Linked DNA regions of Homo sapiens: regions 1, 2 and 4 are each linked to region 3. Evidence: promoter capture Hi-C in human tissues and cell types (Jung and others, 2019). All regions are on one chromosome and are shown on one strand. Each heading gives the region's core, a stretch centred on a gene start or on the middle of the fragment in contact. The rest is flanking DNA. Distances are from core to core; before and after follow the strand shown. Region 1 overlaps NUDCD3 (NudC domain containing 3). Region 2 overlaps YKT6 (YKT6 vesicular SNARE protein). Region 3 holds the start of CAMK2B (calcium/calmodulin dependent protein kinase II beta). Region 4 overlaps NUDCD3 (NudC domain containing 3).

What was found. Contacts are between HindIII fragments. The study calls those that stand out against the background at their distance.
Region 1: a contact is called between a fragment that was not itself captured here and the fragment with the promoter of CAMK2B in region 3, in 3 of the 25 tissues and cell types used here (IMR-90 fibroblasts, dorsolateral prefrontal cortex and lymphoblastoid cells).
Region 2: a contact is called between a fragment that was not itself captured here and the fragment with the promoter of CAMK2B in region 3, in 2 of the 25 tissues and cell types used here (dorsolateral prefrontal cortex and lymphoblastoid cells).
Region 4: a contact is called between a fragment that was not itself captured here and the fragment with the promoter of CAMK2B in region 3, in 3 of the 25 tissues and cell types used here (dorsolateral prefrontal cortex, mesenchymal stem cells and spleen).

The regions. Positions count from the first base shown.
Region 1 is chr7:44,413,451-44,416,295 of GRCh38, forward strand. All of the region lies in intron 3 of NUDCD3 (NudC domain containing 3), which reads right to left. Among named protein-coding and RNA genes, the nearest start is that of NUDCD3, 76 kb to the right of the region's middle. The HindIII fragment of the contact is 4,891 bases long and covers 1-2,845 here.
Region 2 is chr7:44,209,197-44,211,950 of GRCh38, forward strand. YKT6 (YKT6 vesicular SNARE protein) reads left to right here. Exons shown (of 7, transcript NM_006555.4): 6 at 1,827-1,928. Among named protein-coding and RNA genes, the nearest start is that of YKT6, 9.6 kb to the left of the region's middle. The HindIII fragment of the contact is 4,219 bases long and covers 1-2,754 here.
Region 3 is chr7:44,324,148-44,327,300 of GRCh38, forward strand. It overlaps CAMK2B (calcium/calmodulin dependent protein kinase II beta), which reads right to left and starts at 1,447. Exons shown (of 24, transcript NM_001220.5): 1 at 1,210-1,447. The coding sequence starts at 1,274. The HindIII fragment of the contact is 12,993 bases long and covers 1-3,153 here.
Region 4 is chr7:44,432,300-44,435,185 of GRCh38, forward strand. All of the region lies in intron 2 of NUDCD3 (NudC domain containing 3), which reads right to left. Among named protein-coding and RNA genes, the nearest start is that of NUDCD3, 57 kb to the right of the region's middle. The HindIII fragment of the contact is 4,995 bases long and covers 1-2,886 here.

The DNA of each region.
Region 1 (2,845 bases), core at 22-2,521, 89 kb after region 3:
TAATATATACAGAACTCCTAGAAATCAGTAAGAAAAAGTACAGCAACCTAATAGAAAATGGGCAAAAGATATAACTAGTTCAAAGGATAGGCACATGTAGAAAGATGCTCCACCTCACTCTAAGAGAAATACAAATTCATACTACACATAGATACTATTTTTCATCTATTCAACTTACGAAACCCCAAAATTTGATAACATACTATTGTCAGCAAATTTGTGAAAAACCAAGGGCTCTTGTACATTGTTGATGGATATGTAAGTTAGTATAACCCCATATGGAAGATAGTTTAGCAACACTTACAGAAATTAGAAATACAGGCCGGGTGTGGTGGCTCACGCCTGTAATCCCAGCACTTTGGGAGACCAAGGTAAATGGACTGCTTGTGCCCAGGAGTACAAGACCAGCTTCTTGAGCAACAAAGGAAAACCCCATCTCTACAAAATACAAAAAATCAGCTGGGCATGGTGGTGCACGCTTGTAGTCCCAGCTGCTCAGGAGACTGAGATGGGAAGATTGCTTAAGCCTAGGGAGGACAAGGCTGCAGCGGGCCATGATGGGTAACAGAACAAAACCCTGTCTCAAAAAAAAAAAAGAAAAAAGAAAGAAATTAGAAATACATATACCTTTCAATATAGCAACTACACTTCATGGAATTTTTTCTATATGAAAATGCATATACGCAAAATGAAGTTTATTAAAGGGCATTGTTTTATTGTTTACAACAGGAAAGATTGGAAACAACCTAAATGTCCATTAACAAGAGGGTGGTTTAATAATCAGCCTATAGTTTGAAGGGGGCAAAAGCAAAGAACAGGAGTCCCAGGTGTGAGGGATGGTGGGTTTGGGGCACTTGAGCCAGATGACCAGGGAAAGCAAAGTCTACCTAGAATTTACTGGGCACCCCTCAGGCACTTGGGGACATGGAAGTAAAAAGAGATGGGAGTCACTTTGGTGCGGCCAAAATGACACTGGGCAGGGGCAGTAAGATCATCTTAAAAAGTGGAATGCACCATCTGTGCTAAAGGTGGGGACACAGCAATACATGTTCATACTTGATTATACATGCATAAAAATATTTGTTGAAATATCCCCAAAACCAGTTATGTGATGACTTAGGTTAGGGCTGGCTGGGGAGGGGTCAGGACAAGACAGAAAAGACACAGAGGCAGGACAGGGATTTTTGTGTTGTTATACAAGTTTTTGCTTTTGAACATATAAATGTGTTATGCACTCAAAAATTATGTAAATACAAAAATAATGCAGTCTATTAGTCTTTTCTGTTATGGAAGTTTCCTATAATAAAACGTTTTCCTGCATTTTTTCCTAAGCAACTTCTAAGAACACGTTATGGAGCTTTTAACACAAATTCCAGCACTTACATCAAGCTCACAGGCAAGGCCTCACTACGAATCTAAGCCTGGGGATCAGTTAGAGCCATAAATGACACACCTAGTGGCTAAGGTGGTGTTCCAAAAGGTACCCAAGGTGAGGACAAAGATGGCAGGTCACAACAGTGACTGCACCAGCCTGCAGGACCACTCACAATCTATGAGAGGAAGAAGACTCAAGGGAAACAGATTCACTTGTCACTCAATAACATCCAATCATGACTTCATTTGCAATAAGGCCATAAAACAGGGTGGAGGTGACGGGACCTTGGTTCTGGTCTATGATCTACCATCAACCCACCATGAGAGTTTTCTCATCTGCAAAATGAGAGGTTAAACTAAAAATCTCTGGAGTTTAATTTTCAAAAGCATTCCAATTCTGTGATTCAATGAAATGCCAGGTTTATAATCACCCAGGTCTGACATGAGCAATCACAAAAACATCTGTCATTAACTCAAAGTTCCTTGTCTCTATTCTGTGGGTACACTGAAGAGAGAGAGAGAGGGAGTCAGCTGCTTTTCCTAAACAGAGCAGAGTAGATTGAGCAAAGAACATGTGATGGAAAAGACCTAACCACATTTTACTAATGTATGAAATTAAAAGCTTCATTTTGAGAAGTTTTCTTTCAGATTCACTAGCAAGATGATTTTTTTTAAATGTTACGATGTAAAATAGGAACACTTTCTAGTTTTCTTCTAAAGAACATAAAGCATTATGCATACACTCTTATTTGTCTCCTACTACCCTTGAGAGAGCAAGTGTGAACTCATCATACCCATTCTACAGAAAAGGGATCAATGAGAAACTCCAGGAGAGGCAAAGCTCTGATAATGCCTGCATCAAGCTACAGCTGGAGAGTAGAGGATCTGGCTCTCCTGTGAAGCTCTATCCACAGCCCCAACACAAACACTGGGCTGCCTAAGCAAAGCCCCTGAATCACCAACCCAGAACAGATTCTGATTTTATCAGTTGAGTTGTTGCAGCCGGGGTTACCATCGTGACAATGTCCCATAGGTGCCACAGACAAAAAACAAAAATAAACACTGCTGACAGGCAACCGTGACAGGTAGACTTAGGGAATAACTGGCCAGGCCAGAAAGAAAGTACAGCTCTGAAGAAAAACACTTAGACAAGCAAAATCCAAGAGATACAAAATAAACTTTTTCCAAAGTTTTAAGTGAGGTACGACTAAAAAAAAAATCATTCAGCAATTAAGAGACCAAGAATTTTTATTTTTACTTTATTTTATTTATTTTTTGAGATAGGGTCTTACTCTGTTGCCCAAGGTGGAGTGCAGTGGCACAATCACAGTTCGCAGAAGCCTTGACCTCCTGGGCTCAGGTAATCCTCCCACCTCTGCCTCCCAAGTAGCTAGGACTACAGCAGCGTGCCACCATCCCCAGCTAAATTTTTTTTGTGCTGTTTTGTAGAGATGGGCTTTCACCATGATGC
Region 2 (2,754 bases), core at 11-2,510, 120 kb before region 3:
TACACAGGCATAGCTTTAGTGTGTACATCAGCGTCTCCTGGGGTTGGAGTTGTTGGCCTGCGATGGAGCCTGGGAACCTGCATTTTATAAAAAGCATCCCAGGGGCTTCAAACACAGGTGTGCTGACTGCACTCCAAATAACGTGGCTTTGGAATGAACGATAGATGTGAAAGTCTCATGGTATCTGTGTCTTTTGAAACCTTGTGAGCTTTCTTACCACCTAGGTGGCATTTCTCCGTTTTCTCCTCAAGCCATCTCTTTCTGTTGCTCAAGTCCTAGTCTGAGTACCATGACACCTGGGACACCCGCTGTTTCTCCTCTCCCCACGGTGGGGAGTGGATGAGTCCTATTCACCCAGCCTCATCTAGCTGCAGTTGTAAAATCTAGATGATTGGTGTGCATATCTGAATCAGTTAACTTTCTGTGTTAAAAATTTGAGTCGCTCAGCTGTGTGTAGGGATGAAGGACATTCTTGCTGGCTCCTTGTTCTATGGCGCTTCATGTGTGCATCTAGCTGCTGCAGCAGTGGCCATCTGAGGAGAGAAGCGAGCTGCTGCTTCCTGAGGGCCCTGGCAGCAGAGCTGCTGGCTCTTGTGAGGTCTCCATCTCTAGACCCCTTCCCATGGGGTCAGTGTTTTCATTTCCTAAGTCAGAGTTTGTAGTGATGACATTTAGGACATAGCCCATTTAGAAGGCAGGACATGTTCTGTCATAGTGCTGTCTGGTATATATTTGGGGCATGTGTGTAACTTAGAATTTTCTAGGAGCCATATTTTAAAATGATAAAAGGAAAATAGGTAGAATTTAATTTAATTATATATTTTACTTAACGCAGTATATCCAAATACAATTTTTCCAACATGTAATCGGTATAAAACTTGTTTTTTTTTCAGTATAAAACTTACTAATGAAGCATGTGTGAGTTTGCATCTGAAATCTGGTGTGTCTGTACTCAGAGCGCTGCTCAGTTTGGACTTGCCTCACATCAAGTGCTCAATAGCCATTTCCCACCGCCTTTTGTTTCCTGTGGCTGCTGTCAACAGAAACCCTCAAATATTTGCTTTTAACAGATAGCTCTGTGGGCCTGGCTGGTGTCTTTTGGGGCTCTGAGTGTCTGTCCCAGGCCTCTCTCCAGCCTCTGGTGGCTGCTGGCCATCCTTGGCATTCCTTGGATTAGAGGTGCATCACTTCAGGCTCTGCCTCTGCCGTCACGTGACCTTCTGTGTGTGTGTTTCCGTTTCTTACCAGGACATCAGTCATGGAATTAGATGCCACCCTAATCCAGTATTACCTCTTCCTAACTAGTTACATCTGCCAAGACCCTATTTCTAAATATGGTCACATTCAGAGATTCTGGGGATGTTAATTTCTGGGATGCGGTTGGGGTTGGGGGGTGCGGTGTGGGTCACTCTCCAACCCAGTACAATCATATAGTGCCCAGCTACTCTTTTTTCCAAAGCTCCATGCACACGCACATGTGCGTGCACACACACACACACACACAAATGTATATATAAATGTGTGTGTATATATATATATGAGTTTTCCTGGAGTGCTGGTTATCTAAGCCTGTGCTGGGGACAGCTTTTTGGGAAGTCTGCTACATCCCAGTTAGATCTTCTAGATTTCACGGGAATGTCACCAGGTTCTGTTCCATCCACTTGGACAGTAACTATTCTTGGACCGAGTCTCGACACCTAGAGGTGAAGTTTGTGTGTGTTGGAGAGGAACCCAGGTAAGGCACTTTCCCCCATGACTGAAATATGAGGGGCTCATGTCAGGGCACGTACTGAACAGAGCTGGATTCTCTTTTCTTTTTTGTCCAGCACAACACCATGGAGTCTCTGTTAGAGCGAGGTGAGAAGCTAGATGACTTGGTGTCCAAATCCGAGGTGCTGGGAACACAGTCTAAAGCCTTCTATAAAACTGTGAGTACCCAGCACCTGCTGCCTCCTGGGTGTTCTCTCTAGAGAGCAGTCGCAGCTTGCTGCTTCTGGCACTCTCCACTATGAACGGGTCTTTCTTAGACTGTTGAATCATGGTGGATGATTCCTTGTGCGGCAAGAGCCTAAGGTGAGCGCCTCAGGCCCAGGTGGTTGGAGGCAGTTCACTTGGGCGCCGTTGGAGTCGATGCGGGCCGAGGCCTTGTTCCACTCCTGCCTCTGCTCTGCCCTCTGCTGCTCTGGCTGATTTCTGAACTCCTACTCCCAGTCCAGGAAGGCTGGTTCAAGTTCTGATCACCAGAGATTTACTGTTGAATCTTATTCCTCTTTCTGCTGAGTAGACATAAGTCTTTAAGATGCAAGCAATTCAGCCTTCCTGAAGAGGTTCTTAAGCTTTTAATTTCCCTTTGACAGAAAATATTTAATTGACAAGGATGGGTGCTGCTGACTGCCGCTTTCTCTCAGGTCAGTGCTCATGTCTTCCTATGTGGAGATGGCACTGTTGGCCCATGGTTGGATAGTCATAGGGACAAATTTACTTGGTCTGTCCACACACATTTGCTTTCATGTGCACATTGGAGGGAGATGGCTAGGTGGGATTAGGAAGATAGTCTGTGACCAGAAAGCAAGAGAGAAGGTGGCAACAGTGGTCCCCACAAACCACATCCCAAGTGGGAACCACATCTGTTGTCCTCAGGACCATCTTCTAGGAAGAAACACCACCGTGGTGGTCAGATAGCATTGTGTGAAGACAGGAGTGGGGCAAAGTTAAGATATTCTGCCAATCCCATTTGTATTATTGGTCCTTTGT
Region 3 (3,153 bases), core at 197-2,696:
CTCCACAATTATCAATGATCAGCGTCCCTCACCCACCACAAGGTTTCACCAGACACTTATTTAGTAAAGGAAAAAAAGGATCTGTTGCTGGATGTGTAAGAGGAAATCTCGCCAGCACCGCCAGCGCCCCCACCGCCTGCACTGAAGGGACGGAGGAGGATGGGGGAGGACGCAGGAGGATGGGGCTCTGGCCCAGTCAGGCTGGAGATTCAGGAGTTCTGAAGCTAGCCCTAGGGATGCCAGGTGCAGCCACCTTGATTCTCAGAACGGGAGACCCCAGGCCAGACAGGAGGCCCCTGAGGCGCTCCCCATCTCACCCCAGGGGCAAAGCCGGGTCCGGGGACCACGAACCAGACCTTCGCCCTACACTGCTCATACTGCCAAGGAGAGAACGGGAGCCACAGCACCTGTTCCCCGTGAGGTCCCACTTCAAACAAACCTTCAAAGCCCCTTCCCCTTTAGGGCGCCCCCGCCAACAGTCCAAAATCCAGCCCCCATCCACCTCGATGACCCTGAAATTTGCAATCCAGTCAGGCTCTTAGTCTCTCCCCGCTATCCCCATGACCTGATCCAGGCTCCCTGACCTCGTCCTCCCCACACCTCCAAATTCCTGTTTCCAGAAGAATCTGGGGGAAAATCCTCCAGAACCCAGATTCCCCAGGGGACCTACAGCAGAGGCTCTCCCACGCCGGCACCCCCAGCGCGGATGGGGCCACGCGCAGGAGCAGGCGCAAGCAGGTCCCGCCACCCCCGCCGCCTGCCGCTCGGGTGGGGGTGGGGACAGCGCACCCGCGTCGGGGACGACCCTCTGGGGCCGCAGCCGACCCCTCCCGGCGCTCCAGGCCCGGGGGCCACCCCCGCGCGCCCCTCCTCTCTGACCTCCCCGCCGCCAAATGCGTCACGTCTGCCGGGCGCTCCGGGGACACCTGCTGCCGCCCCCGCCGCGCCAAGTCGCGAGCCCGGAGCCCCGGCCCGGCAGCCGCGCTGGGCAGAGCTGGGCAGGGCCGCGCGCGCTGAGGTCAGGCAGCCAGGCCCGGGGCCGGGGGCTCGCGGGTCGGGGCCGCGCGGGGCCGTGCGCTTGGGCCCGGAGCCCAGAGAAGCCGGCGGCGCGCGGGCCCGCAGTGCGCCTGGAGCCGGCGGCGCGGAGGGTCCCGGAGGTCCCGGCCCTCTGGGGTCCCCGGCCCAGCCCGCGCGCGCCGCTGCTCTTACTTGCCAATATCCTCGTAGAGCTGGTACTCGTCGGTGAAGCGGGTGCAGGTCACCGTGGTGGCCATGGCGGCGGCGGACGGGCTCGGCGTGCGCTCGGCTGCGCTCGGGCGGCGGCGACTCCGGCTCCCGCTCGCGGGCACGGCGGCGACACGGGCGCGGGCGCGGGAGACACCTCGGCTCGCGGCGCCAGGCGGGGGCCGGGCTGGGCTGCGCCGGGCGGCGAGCGCACGCGAGATCTGCTCGCTCCGTCCTCGCCAGGAGCGCGCCGCACACCTACGCGCGGGGAGGCGCGGGCGCCGCTGTCACCGCCGCCGCCGCCGCGCCCGCCCCGCCCGCCGCCCCCTGCACGCGCCTTCCCCGCGCCCTGCACACGCTGCTCCTGCACCCGCACCCGCAGGGCACCGGCGCCCTGCATCTGCACACGCGCCCTGCACACACACCCTTGCCCCGCACCCGCAACGCACCTGCACCTGCACCTGCACTCACACGCGCGCCCGCCCCCGCCCGCCCCCGCACCCCACACACACACCCGCGCCCTGTACTGACGCCTTCATCCTCTACCCGCACCACGCCCGCACCTCGCGCACGCAGGCCACTTGCTGCTGCCGACCCCTCGCTCTCACATAACACAGAAGAGTGCACATAATGAACGCAGCCTCCTCTCTCTCTCTCGAAGGCCCACCTAGCCTGACAGCAGGAGGGGACTGGGGCCCACATGGAGGTAGAGGGCTCATGTGCTGCCCTCCACAGGACTCATTCCTCACACCCTCAGGAAGAGATGCTGCCAGATCCCTTCTGCCCAGTCTCCATCAGCCACACATGCCCCAAAGGCTGCCTGGCCAGGAGGAACCGCCCAGAAGGCAGTGTACACACTGGGTCACTAGCATGAGAAAGTGAAAGGGTGGGGCCTGCCCCCTCCCCTTGGCCCCAGCCCCTCCCTTCCCCCTCACTTCTCCAAAGACTGGTTGCTGGGTTGTCTGGAATGGAGGTCCCAGGAGGCAACATTCGGAGTCCAGACCAACGGACCCTGAGCCAGGGGAACAGGGGCTGCTCCACCAGCAATTTGGGGGGCCTGAGAGCTCACAGCCACCCTGATCAGGTAAAGGTGCACATTCTCTCCTTTTCCAGCACGGTCCACCTGCCTGCCCCCTGCTTTTGCCTGGAGGAGGAGGGCCCACACACCCCAACCCCCTCCTGAAAGCAGCCAAGGAGGAGGAGAGTGCAGGGAGGCAGGCAGGAGGCAGGGCGACCCGGTTTCCCACAAAACAGCCTTCCCTGAGGCCTGGCACCAGGGCTGCTGTCCAGAACCGGGACTTTAGACCACTGGGCTCCAGCATCCCCACACTCTTCTCTGACGGGGTCCATCCTGGGCAGGCTCTGAGGAGGGGGTTTCCAGCAGCCAGCTCTGGATTTGGGTCACGCTGCTGCCCTGATATGACTTCCTTACTGCTCCCCAAGGACCAATTCTGGGCCTATCCTGCTCATCCCTCTCACCTCGTGGCCAGCCCAGGGCAAGCCCCAGAAGCCACAATAAATGTCATGTGGATAAGGGAGGGGATAAAGGCATTCTGAGTGCTGGCAGCCAGGGCCCTTCTGGGCCAGGATGCATTTGGCATGGGACTGCTGGGCAATTAGTAGACCACACGGCAACAAGTCCCTGCCATCGACCCACCTGCACCCAGAAGACACTAGAGGACGAGAAATTCTCAGGCCAAAGGCAAATGCTGGGCCACCTGGGGAAGTCCCCAGCTGAGGAAGCAGAGGGATCCTGGCCTTGACTTCAGCAGGACCATAGCAGGAAGGGAGACCCCGTCTATGTCAGACTTGGACTCAGAGAATCCTGGGCCATCCTAACAGACAGACTGGCATGGGCTCGAGAAAGGACTGGAGGCCAAGTCTGAGGTTTGTTCTTGGCGTTGTGTTTAACCCCACAGGAGTTTCTTC
Region 4 (2,886 bases), core at 199-2,698, 110 kb after region 3:
GACAATTCTGATTTTCAAAAAGCTAGTGGCAAGTATGTAAAATGAAGAGTAAAAGGAGGTCAAAGACCTAACCTGAAGAGTTTTGTCTAGGAAGCTAGAGCCCCAAACCTATAATAGATTTATAATTCAATGAGACAAGGGCTGACCTCAAGCTCTTCTCCAGAGAGAGAATGCCTATGATAGGCACTGACTGCCTGACTAAAGGCAAGGTTTGGCTCCCCAAGTCACAGCCAGTGATTCCAAAGCGGAGGTGTTTGCACAGAAATGTCAAGCTTGCTGCTCCCCACTTCCCGCCCCCTGGGGCTCAGTGATTGAGGCCCGGTTTGTCAACCCCCTCTCCACCACCCCAAATACAGCTGTTCTTTCATGTCTCTTGCAATCAATCCTGTCTACCCTTTAAATGTTCACACTCTTAACTACATTGCCCTTAACTACATTGCGCAAAAGCCACTACTCTGTGCAAAGATGACAACATCCCTGTCACCCTCATCTCCTTCCATTATCCCAGGTGTAAGAGCTGTCATCACACCTCACCACCTGTTGACCTCACTGTCCCCTCAGGAGAGGTCCCACAACATCTGGGTGCAATGTACATATATGTGCTAGGGTCTGAAATGTTTGTGTTCCCCTAAAACGTGTATCTTGAAATCCTAACCCCGAAGGTGATGGCAGTAGGAGGTAAGGCCTTTAGAAGGTGATTAGGTCATGAGGGTGGAGGCTCTGAGTGGGATTAGTGCCCTTACATGGAGGCCTCAAAGAGCTTCCTCATCCCTTCCACTATGGGAGGACACCACAAGAAAACAGAGGTCCATGAATCAGGAAGCAGGGCCTCCCCAGACACTGAATCTTCTGGTGCCTTGATCTTGGACTTCCAACATCCAGAACTGTGAGAAGTAAATTTCTCACAGAAGCTACCCAGGCTATGCTATTTTGTTATAGTAGCCCAAATGGACTAGGCCAACATGTGTGTGTGTGTGTATAGTACATGTGTGTGGCATGTGTGCAGTGCACTGTGTGGTAAAAGTATGTGTGCACTATATGTGTGTGTGGGGTACGTGTGTGCATACAATGTGTGTGTGCCACATGCATGCGGCTGGTGCATGTGTACCTGCATGTGCATGTGGGCACATGTACTGTGTGTGCAGTTTGTGTGTGTGGTGTATGTGTGTGGTGCACATGTGCATGCAATGTGTGTGTGGTGCATGTGGGCATGCAGTGTGTGTGTGCTATGTGCATGTGTGTGGTATGCATGTATGCACACAGTGTGCATATGCGTGCATAAGGTATAGTATGGGCACGCAGTATATATGTGTGTGATGTACGTGCCATGGGTATGAGGCAACCAGCAGACATGGCTCACTCCCTCCCTTGAAATTCTCACCTGTCTCTTATCAATTTTCTTCTCATCTCACTGACCTGGCACATCCCACACCTGGATGGCAGCCATGGCTGCGTCTCTTCTCAGTTTCTTCACATGCCACTGTGATTACATTATTCTCAACAACCTCATATGGCTCCCCACGGCCCAGGAGACAAGGCCAGGGCCTCAGCAAGGCACTCGAGGTAGCCCATGATTGAGTCGTCATGACTCCTTCCTCCCTTTTTCCTCCTGCTCCCACAAATGAATCCTCCTCCTCATCTGTCAACTCTTCTCTGCCTATGCTCAATCTCAACTCAAGATTTCTTCCACCTGATGGAAATACGGTGAATTTTCTTCTGGGTTTCTTCATTTTCAAAGCTTTACAAAATAAGCATTATTATAAAAATGACCCATCCTTGAGGCCCACTGCCCTGCTTCTGAAGCCTAAAACTCATGGTCTGCCAGGCCCACTTCCTACTTCTCGGTTTTATCTTCCTAGGAGTGTTCACTCCTGAGAGCTCGTCCACTCATGCTGATTTCAGTGCTCAAAAATGACTCGATGCCTGGACCCCAGCCCTGGGCCCCCAGCTGCCAGGTCTGCCCCAACGCCAGCAACCCAGACGTAGCCTGGGCCTTGGTCTTGGCCTCTGCAGCCTTCAACCTTTTCACTTACAAAGGGACAGGCTGGAGCCAGTCACTACTCCCAGGCTTCCACACAGACAAGCACCTCACACTAACCAGCCTTCCTGCAACTCTTGCCAGATTCGTCTGTCTAGAGGGTGGTGCCTCCCTGCCTGCTGCCCAGCTCTCACTGAGGTTCCCCTACCCGCCAGGCTCCTTTCATTGTTGTGGATGCATTATTTCTAAGTTCATGCTTCTTTACTAGCAGGGATGTGACCCCCCCGCCCCGCAATATCAGGCCAACTGTGGATACCCTGCCACCTCAGCCAGACACACAAAAGGTTTGATGCCAATGCAGCAAGCAGCCACCCCAGGCCACGGGCTCTGGTCTCAAGTATGTCCTACAAATCAATGTCTCCAAGCCAGTCCCCTAGCAGTCAAGCAGTTTCCCTGAATGCTCTGTGTGTCCGTGGTGTCCAACCTGAGGTCAAGCCCAGCTTCCCCGCACAGCAACCAGGTAACGGTGACTAGGTCACTCAGCCTCTCTGTGCCTTGGTCTCCTGACCTATAAAATGGGAACACTAATAGCATCTCTCCCAAAAGGTAGCTGTGAGGAACAAACCATTTAAAATGACTAAAACAAGGTCTCGTGACACTCAGTATTGCTTTCTCACTCACTGCTTTCCCTTTAGAAAGTCTTTGGCTATGGAAAGAACTCACTGAGCAGCTTTTATGACTATGGGATGATTCTTGAACCCTCTGAGACATTTGGAGAGAGAAGTTATGTCTTTTGCCTAGTAATTCTACACTTCTTTATTGCCTAATAATTCTACACTTTTTTTAGATTTTTCTAAAAATCTAGTATCAATAATTTTATCAATACCTGATTGTTATCTGTTTAGCAT